3 separate regions of the Homo sapiens genome follow, and regions 2 and 3 are each linked to region 1. Evidence: promoter capture Hi-C in 16 types of primary human blood cells and fetal thymus (Javierre and others, 2016). All regions are on one chromosome and are shown on one strand. Each heading gives the region's core, a stretch centred on a gene start or on the middle of the fragment in contact. The rest is flanking DNA. Distances are from core to core; before and after follow the strand shown.

Region 1 (2,789 bases), core at 178-2,677:
ATATGAGTAAGACTATTAAGTATAAAAATGTTACATTTAACAAAATTCTATGAGGGATGTGGAATAGAAATAAAAAATAAAAGAGGAGGCAGGGATGGGGGGGACGGGGTGGCTCACGCCTGTAATCCCAGCACTTTAGGAGGCTGAGGCGGGTGGATCAGTAGGTCAAGAAATCGAGACCATCTTGACCAATATGGTGAAACCCTGTCTCTACTAAAAATACAAAAATTAGCTGGGTGCGGTGGTGCGCACCTGCAGTCCCAGCTACTCGGGAGGCTGAGGCAGAATGGCTTGAACCTGGGAGGCGGAGCTTGCAGTGAGCTGAGACTGGGCTACTGCATTCCAGCATGGCAACAGAGCAAGACTCTGTCTCTAAATAAATAAATAAATAAATAAATAAATAAATATAAAAAGAGGAAACAAACCATGTAAATTTTAAGGGAGGAGACAATTTTAACATTTTACTTTATGTGGGAACGTATACATCTCTTACAACTATTAAATTCATTTTTAAAAAATAATAACTCCCGAGCCATCACTCCTTAAAGAATGTGGTAGTGGTACAAGTTTAAAGAAAGTCTTTTGAGAACACTCTATTGGAAAAGTGAGCAGACTAGGGAATAACAATTTTACCCCCAAGAATTGTTGTTAAGATTAAAAAGGAAAGCGCTGTCGCAGACGCTCAAACACGGTGCTGGCTCTGCTTCCTTCATCAGTTCCTAGGGTCATGGGACACAAATACTAAAATATTTCCACTACTGGTAACGATGCTGGCGAACGCTTTCCTAATCCAGTTCAGACCGACCTCTCATTGGAGCTTGTGTGACCCGCAGGAGTCCGTGCCCCGACTCCGCCGGGACTGAAACGCAACGGAAAGTGCAGTGCTGGATGCGCAAGGGAATGGGAGCGTCGTGGGACCTCCGGAGCCTGGGAGATCAGAGGGTGGAGTCAGGGCCCCCTAGTTTTGGACTCCATTGCCGCACTGCAGGCGACTTCTCGGACCCCACCGTTGAAGCACCAGGCCCCCCGCCCACCCAAGAGCAACCGGGAAGCACAGCACAAGCCCACAGCTCCGGACACGCGCTCCCGTGTGCCCTGCCTCCCCTGAATCCCAACCCACGAAATCTCCGCCCCCTCGCCACGCCCACATCCCCGTCTACCGTCGGGGAGGGGCGACGAGGCGAAAGCCTTGTGGACCAGGCCGGGATTGGTGGGCGGGACGGAAATGGAGCTGGGAGAGGTGACGTCACCTTCCGCACCTGGCTCAGGGCGGAAATGGGGCGGGGAGAGAGTGACACCACCCCTCTGCCTGTGGCTGGATTGGTGGGCGTGGCGGGGGCGTGGCGATGCCTGCCCTCCGGACAAGGCGGGGTTGGTGGCCAGGGCGACCGCGGGGCGGGCCAGCGCCGGGGGTCGTGGCCGGGACACGTGGTACGGAACCGGCGCCGCGCTTGCTGCTGGTAACAGGGCCTTGCCTAGTGGGCCTTCCTTCCCAGGTGGGTCTTCCTGATGGACCTTCCTTCCCGGGTGGGCGCCCTGAGCTGGGAACGGGCTGGGCGGGGAGGACCCGGGTCAGCGGCGAGAGTCACGCCTCATTCGTGGGGGAGCGTGGGGCGCCCGGCCGCAGCCAGGCGGGAACAATGGTGTCCGGGCTGTTCCCGAGCGCGCGGTCGGGGGCGGAGGCCCGTGACGGCCATGGCCCCGGGGCCTCTCGCACCTCCGGGCCACTCGTGTCCCAGCAGCGCCGAGCGCGTCCCCGGTACGCAGGGACAAGCTGGGCGGCGCACTTGGCCTGAGCCTGCGTGGCCCTCCCTGGTGGAGTCGAGTGGAACGACCCGGGTTGGAGATGGGGTTGCGGGGAGCCGAGCGCTGGTCAGGCCACACCCCTCCCCAGGGGCCTGCTGAGAACTCCAGCCTTTCTCCAACGGATCCCTTTCCCGGAGACCTGGGGTGGGGAGTGTGGCGGGACAGAAGCCTCCCAGGTTCAAAGGGCCCTGGACAGCGTCCCTAGCTCCCGCCAGCATTTGAGGCAGCGTTTAAGGCTATAGGAGGAAGCGTCTGAGGGGAGACAAAATTCCCATGCCAGCTTGATGGTCTGGGGCAGGTGTCTTATTCAATTGGCTTCAGTTTCCTCATCTGTGAAATAGAGACAATATTTGGTCCTCACAGACAGGGCCACCAAACCAAACTCCCCACCGCCTGCCAAGGTCAGATTCCGTAGATCATCCAAGCATAGACTGCAGGAAGAGGCGGAGAACCCGGGGCCTGCTACCAATACCTTCCTTGTCCCTAATGTTTGCAGGCAGGAGTGGAGGAAGAGAAGTCCACATTATGCTTAGGGATCAAGTTCTAGCTTGGGCAGATTGGAGATTCTTTTATTGGTTCTTAATCAGACATGAAGGTGTGATTCAGTTATTTGTGTTATATATGCCTTCAATTATCAAGGGACAGGGACTGAGATTCTCAGAACTAGAAGACTCATTTGTGTGTACTACTGACGGTTCCAGGTGCCACAGCAATTTCTCCTGCCCTCCACTAGTCTCAACATTTAAATCATGTTACTCCCTTGCCAGGCATGGTGGCTCATGTGTGTAACCTCGGCACTTTGGGAGACCAAGGCGGACAGATCGCTTGAGTCCAGGAGTTCGAGACCAGCCTGAGTAACACGAGCAAACCCCGTCTCTACAAAAAATACAAAAATTAGCTGGGTGTGGTGGTGCGCACCTGCAGTCCCAGCTACTTGGGAAGCTGAGGCAGGAGGATCATTTGAGCCTGGGAGACAGAGGTTG
Region 2 (2,789 bases), core at 137-2,636, 2.3 Mb after region 1:
AGACCCGCAGCCCACGGAAGGGGCGCTGAGACGCGCGGCCGCGAGGGTCAGGGGTGCCCCACGGGAGCGTGCGGCTCATATTATTAGGAAGGTGTCCAGTGCGTCGTGCCCCGGCCGGGCGCCAGGTGGCGGCAGAGGCCGGTGCGGCGCAGCTTCTTCGGCCGCGGGACAGCGGTGCCCCCAGGGTAGGAGGCTGGGGCTGGGCTGGAGCAGAGCCGGAGGGAGGAGTGCGGCCAACAAAAGACCATCCGCGAGCGCCTGAACTTGGGTGTGGAGTTGTATTTTAGGATATGTTAAAAAGTTAGGAATATTAAGTAATTGGCACTTGGCCGGGAGCGGTGGCTCACACGTGTTATCCCAGCACTTCAGGAGGCCGAGGTGGGCGGATCACCTGAGGTTGGGAGTTTGAGAACATCCTGGCCAACATGGCGAAATCCTATCCCTACTAAAAATACAAAAACTTAGCTGGGCATGGTGGTGCGCGCCTGTAGTCCCAGCTACTAGGGAGGCTGAGGCAGGAGACTCCGTCGCAAAAAAAAAAAAAAAAAAAAAAAAAGGCACTTAATCCCAGACTGAAACCCTCTTTTCAGACTCTACATTAAGATCTTAAAGAACTTAGGCCCAGGCAGGCGGGTCACTTGCAGTCAGGAGTTTGAGACCAGCCCGGGCAACATGGCAAAACCTGTCTCTACTAAAAATACCAAAATTAGCCGGGCTTGGTGGTGCGAGCCTGTAATCCCAGCTACTCCGGAGGCTGAGGCAGGAGAATTACATGAACCCGGGAGGCAGAGGTTGCAGGGAGCCGGGATCAGGCCGCTGCATTCCAGCCTGAGCGACAGAGCGAGACTGTCTCAAAAAATAAATAAATAAAATAAAATAAAATAAAGAGCTTAAAGAACTTAAGAAAACACCAAATACTTCAGAGGTACCAGTGGCAATGTAATTAATGAGGATATTCAAGGAAGGTGACATAATTGCCAAGGTAAAAATAATTAAACAATTTCCAAAAGTCTATTTCAGTGAAGGAAACATTTGTCTTTAAGGGAAACATCAATGAAAATTATGTTTATGGCAAAAATGAGCCCTTTCTGCAAGCTTCATTTAGAAAATTGTGGGCATAATTACCATTTTACACAAAATAACTCTGTAGAAAGCTTTTTGAAATAAGCTTCTATTGAAATAAAATGCCAATTAATTACCCATTTAACTTATTAAATGAGAACTATAGGGTGCTAATTTTTAAATATTTTTTAAGTTGCTTTGAAATAATACCTTTTCTTTGAGACTTGAGAACATATATAGCTAATATGAACTGATGAAACAAAGATTTTTAATTACTTCTTTTATTATTTACCTATATATTCTGTATCAGTTAATTTCATTGCTTAAATTATTAATGTCTAATATGCCACTTGAAGCATTCATATTCTGAAAATGATGTAAGTTACACATGTAGGTTGGCCGAAAGTATTATATACTAGGACACAGCGGAGTTTGGGAGTGTCTGCTGCCTGTCCAGGAAGCTGCAGGTTTATGAGTTGTAAATGTAGGAGAATTCAGTTCAGTATAAATAGTTTAGCTTCCTGTTATATTAGGATAGGCAGTTAAGCTTATGTTTTTGCCATAGACAAATTATCATTATCTGTCAGGCCTACAGTTTAGGTTTTGACGTAACTCTTCAAGTACAAATGGAGAATGCATCCCCAGCAGCACTGCAGTCCTCGTTCACACCGAGTTTCGGTACAGTCAGGGGTTTTGAAGTCAGTACCACGGGAGACGCAGACGGAGGATGAATGAAAGGCACAGAAAAATCCTAAGGTAGAAATGGGGGGAACGGAAAAGCAGACAGACACTAGAGGGCGCAGGAGGAAAGTGGGTCGGAGTCCTGGAAGAGGAGGCGGGCTGGGTGAAGGAAGACAGTGAAGAGGGCACTCTGAAAAACCCATCCGAATCTTTCAGTGTAGGTAGGCACCACCCACAGCATGTTGTCATTGCAAACTGGTTCCTTCCATACGTCCCGAAAGGCTCTCCATGGTAGCTTACATCTCTCTATTTGACACTTGATGGCTTTCTTAAGGTATTTAGGTCCATTTACTAAAAATGACTCATCACTTGTTAATTAAATAAGGTTTATACATTTTTTTCATTTTAATTTCAAACATAGGAGATAAAGAAAAAAGGTGCTTGTGGCCAGGCACGGTGGCTCACGCCTGTAATCCCAGCTGAGGGGAGGCCGAGGCGGGAGGATCACCTGAGGTCAGGAGTTTGAGACCAGCCTGGCCAACATGGTGAAACCCTGTCTCTACTAAAAATACAAAAGTTAGCCAGGCGTGGTGGTCCTAATCCCAGCTGCTCGGGAGGCTGAGGTGGGAGAATCTCTTGAGCCTGGGAGGCAGAGGTTGCAGTGAGCCAAGATTGCGCCACTGCACTCTAGCCTGGGCAACAGAGCGAGACTCCATCTCAAAAAGAAAAAAAAAAAAAAGAAAAAAAGAAAAAAGAATAAAAGTGCTTGTTCACCCGTACTTTGTGCATGTCAAGTGATATTGAAAACCAAATCTGTAGGCTGTGCCTGGTGGCTGACGCCTATAATCCCAGCACTTTGGGAGGCCAAGGCGGGCGGATCACCTGAGGTTGGGAGTTCAAGACCAGCCTGACCAACACAGAGAAATCCCATTTCTATTAAAAATACAAAATTAGCCCAGCGTGGTGGTGCATGCCTGTAATCCCAGTTACTCGGGAGGCTGAAGCAGGAGAATCGCTTGAACCCTGGAGGCAGAGGTTGCAATGAG
Region 3 (2,789 bases), core at 74-2,573, 2.0 Mb after region 1:
AAAAATAAATAAATACATAAATAAATAATAAAAACAGAGTGACTGTAATTTCACCAAAAACAATTCTCAAGAATTTTTCTTCTGTTACCTAAAATGATTGATTTCCTTATTTGGCTGTCTTTGTCTTTTCTCACCTTGTAAGCTTCAAAAGAAATATGACAGAAAGACTTACCTCCTTCCCAAATGGAAACCGTAACAACATGAAGCCACCCTATGGCCAAATTGGTGTTAAATTCTTTCTGGTTAGTATTTTCAGAGCTTATTTACGACTTACAAGCAGATGACTTTAAGAAAAAGAAAGAAAGTGGGGGGCGGGCACAGTGGCTCACGCCCGTAATCCCAGCACTTTGGGAGGCCGAGGTGGGTGGATCACCTAAGGTCAGGAGTTCGAGACCATCCTGGCCAACACTGTGAAACCCCGTCTCTACTAAAAATACAAAAATTAGCCAGGCGTGGTAGCGGGCACCTGTAGTCCCAGCTGCTTGGAAGGCTGAGGCAGGAGAATTGCTTGAACCACGGAGCGGGAGGTTGCAGTGAGCCAAGATCGCGCCACTGCACTCCAGCCTGGGAGACAGAGCGAGACTCTATCTAAAAAATAAAAAAATTAAAAAAATTTTAAAAAAAGAAGGAGAAAAGATGTAACGCCCAGGCATACTAAAAATCAGAAAACTAAACTTGCAGTCAATATAAAGAAACAGAGTGGTTGACACGTCAGGCACTTGAGGTGGGTTCATGAACGTGGCCGAGCACTAAGGCACCCCCAAGCTTCCTGGCCCCAAGGAAAAACCTTCATTAAGAGAATTTATCTTTCTGGGGACTGAACTAGGACAGGTGTGGATCTCTGGGCATGACTGAAGCATTCCATTTTAGAATAGACAGAGGTGTTTTGGTGTGCTCCAAACAGATGTTAAACCAATGGCATTAAGTTAAACTTGGGGAATCAAAATGAAATTTTTGTAAAGAGACAAATAGTTTGATCACGCTAATTGAGTGAGTAAATTGTATAAATTCTCACACTTTTGTGCACTTTTGTTTTTCATGGCAGCCTTATGGTAAATGGCAAAAGGAAAATGTGGGGAAGTGATACGAGATGGCTAAAACATTTTATACACTGAAAATCTAAAAAAAATTTCAGGCAAGGAGTCATCATTTAAAAAATGACAAAAGTTTAAGAAACTTCTAAATCTTAATTTTTCATATCTGTGCATTTACTTATTTATTCCACATTTACTCTGTAAGGCAGGCACTAGATCAAGTGCTCATTTTAAAAGCAGTATGTATTACATGCTTATTATGTAGGGAATCTTCCTAAGAGCTTACATTTTATGTCACTTAATATATCACAATAACCCATGAGGTAGGTGCCACTATTGTCCCATTTGGCAGATGCTGAAGGAGAGACCCAGAGTTCACAGTCCCGCCCGTCTCTCAGAGTTGGCGAATGTCAGCCATGGATTTAGAAATAGCCTCGACCATGACGCCAACCCATACATCCACCTACATTGAGCTGTACGCAGCTGAAACACGACAGCCCTGGCTATTTTAAAGATAATTTTATAGACGGACAGGGCCAAATATGTGTCTTCTCACAATATGTTTAGGAACTTGTCACACACTCTCATGTCCAGTTCTCGTTCTGCTTATTGGTCATTTGCGCTTGTGTAAGCTATGCAGCTTCTGGTTCTGTTTACGTCATCATGCACTTTGGCATTTGCCGCTTATCACAAAGTGTTGTTAGTCTTCCACATACCTAATATGTGCTACATATTTGTGCAAGAATACCTACTAACTAGCTGGTGGAGACAGAATCTCCATGCAAATGTTTCATTTGGTTTCTCAAAGGAGTTGAGCTGGCTTTAAAAAATATATAAAATACAAAGAAAAGCTTCAGCAGTGGGAAGAATGAGGTCAGGAATAATAAGAGTGGAAAAACAGAAAAATCAGGATCAATTTCAGCTCAACCAGTCTTAACACCAGCACACGTGGATACATGTCTAGTCATCCTTTGAACTGTCAGAAGCAGCAGAATGTTCCCCTGAGCTTCCTAGTACCCAAAGCAAAGACAAAAGCACTATGTTTACAAGATTTGTGCTGTCTGTGAAATGAGAGTGTAACGGACTCTGTTCACAATGACACTGTCACCAAATAAATTCTGACAGTGTGCCGCATAAGGATTTGGAGACAAAAACTATCAACCCATAATTGAATGAGAATTTATAGCAATTACTTTATCTGCAAAGTGGGAATCACACAGTTATTTTTAATGAGAAAAATTTAAATGTGAAAATCACTTAAAACTGTTTTCGTACTATACTAGTATGAGCAAATGTAAGTTATTTTCTTAATAGCACAGGCCCCCTCCTCAAATAGCAGTTGATATCATCAATATTATAAAACTATATGTTAATTTAAGATGTTTTAAAATATCTGAAGGCATAAAAAGTTATCTCTAATTGTGCTAATACTCTTGAACTGGAAGTCATTTCTAGAACCATTCCTTTCTCCCGCGGATTTTTAAATTGTGTTTGTTTTCAGAGTGTCCTTGGTATGGCCATGCCTAGCAGAATCTGAGATTCACACCTCAAAGTGTGAATGTTTACAAACTGTTTTCACTCAAGACCCAGTCATGCTCTTCCCCTGTGACTGCAGCCTGCCTCTTCCTCCCAAGGCGCCCTGTCTACTGCGAGGCAGGGCCCTGTAGGGCAGTGCTTGGGTTTCAACAGACAGACATGAGCCCAGAGGCTTCCTGGCAGGGAACTTGTCAGCACTTTGCTTTTCCCCCGTTAAAT

Evidence for each region. Contacts are between HindIII fragments. The CHiCAGO score rates a contact against its expected background, and 5 or more counts as called.
Region 2: a fragment that was not itself captured here is called in contact with the fragment with the promoter of CNDP2 in region 1 in 1 of 17 cell types (activated CD4 T cells); the score reaches 5.8 in activated CD4 T cells.
Region 3: a fragment that was not itself captured here is called in contact with the fragment with the promoter of CNDP2 in region 1 in 1 of 17 cell types (M0 macrophages); the score reaches 6.0 in M0 macrophages.

What each region holds. Positions count from the first base shown.
Region 1 is chr18:74,494,936-74,497,724 of GRCh38, forward strand. CNDP2 (carnosine dipeptidase 2) reads left to right here and starts at 1,428. Exons shown (of 12, transcript NM_018235.3): 1 at 1,428-1,496. RefSeq lists enhancers at 714-983, 1,541-2,053, 2,437-2,536 and silencers at 1,254-1,763, 1,894-1,943. The HindIII fragment of the contact is 6,969 bases long and covers 1-2,789 here.
Region 2 is chr18:76,802,080-76,804,868 of GRCh38, forward strand. All of the region lies in intron 2 of ZNF236-DT (ZNF236 divergent transcript), which reads right to left. Among named protein-coding and RNA genes, the nearest start is that of ZNF236-DT, 19 kb to the right of the region's middle. RefSeq lists a silencer at 197-246. The HindIII fragment of the contact is 441 bases long and covers 1,167-1,607 here.
Region 3 is chr18:76,501,057-76,503,845 of GRCh38, forward strand. No RefSeq gene overlaps it. Among named protein-coding and RNA genes, the nearest start is that of ZNF516-DT, 7.1 kb to the left of the region's middle. The HindIII fragment of the contact is 1,120 bases long and covers 764-1,883 here.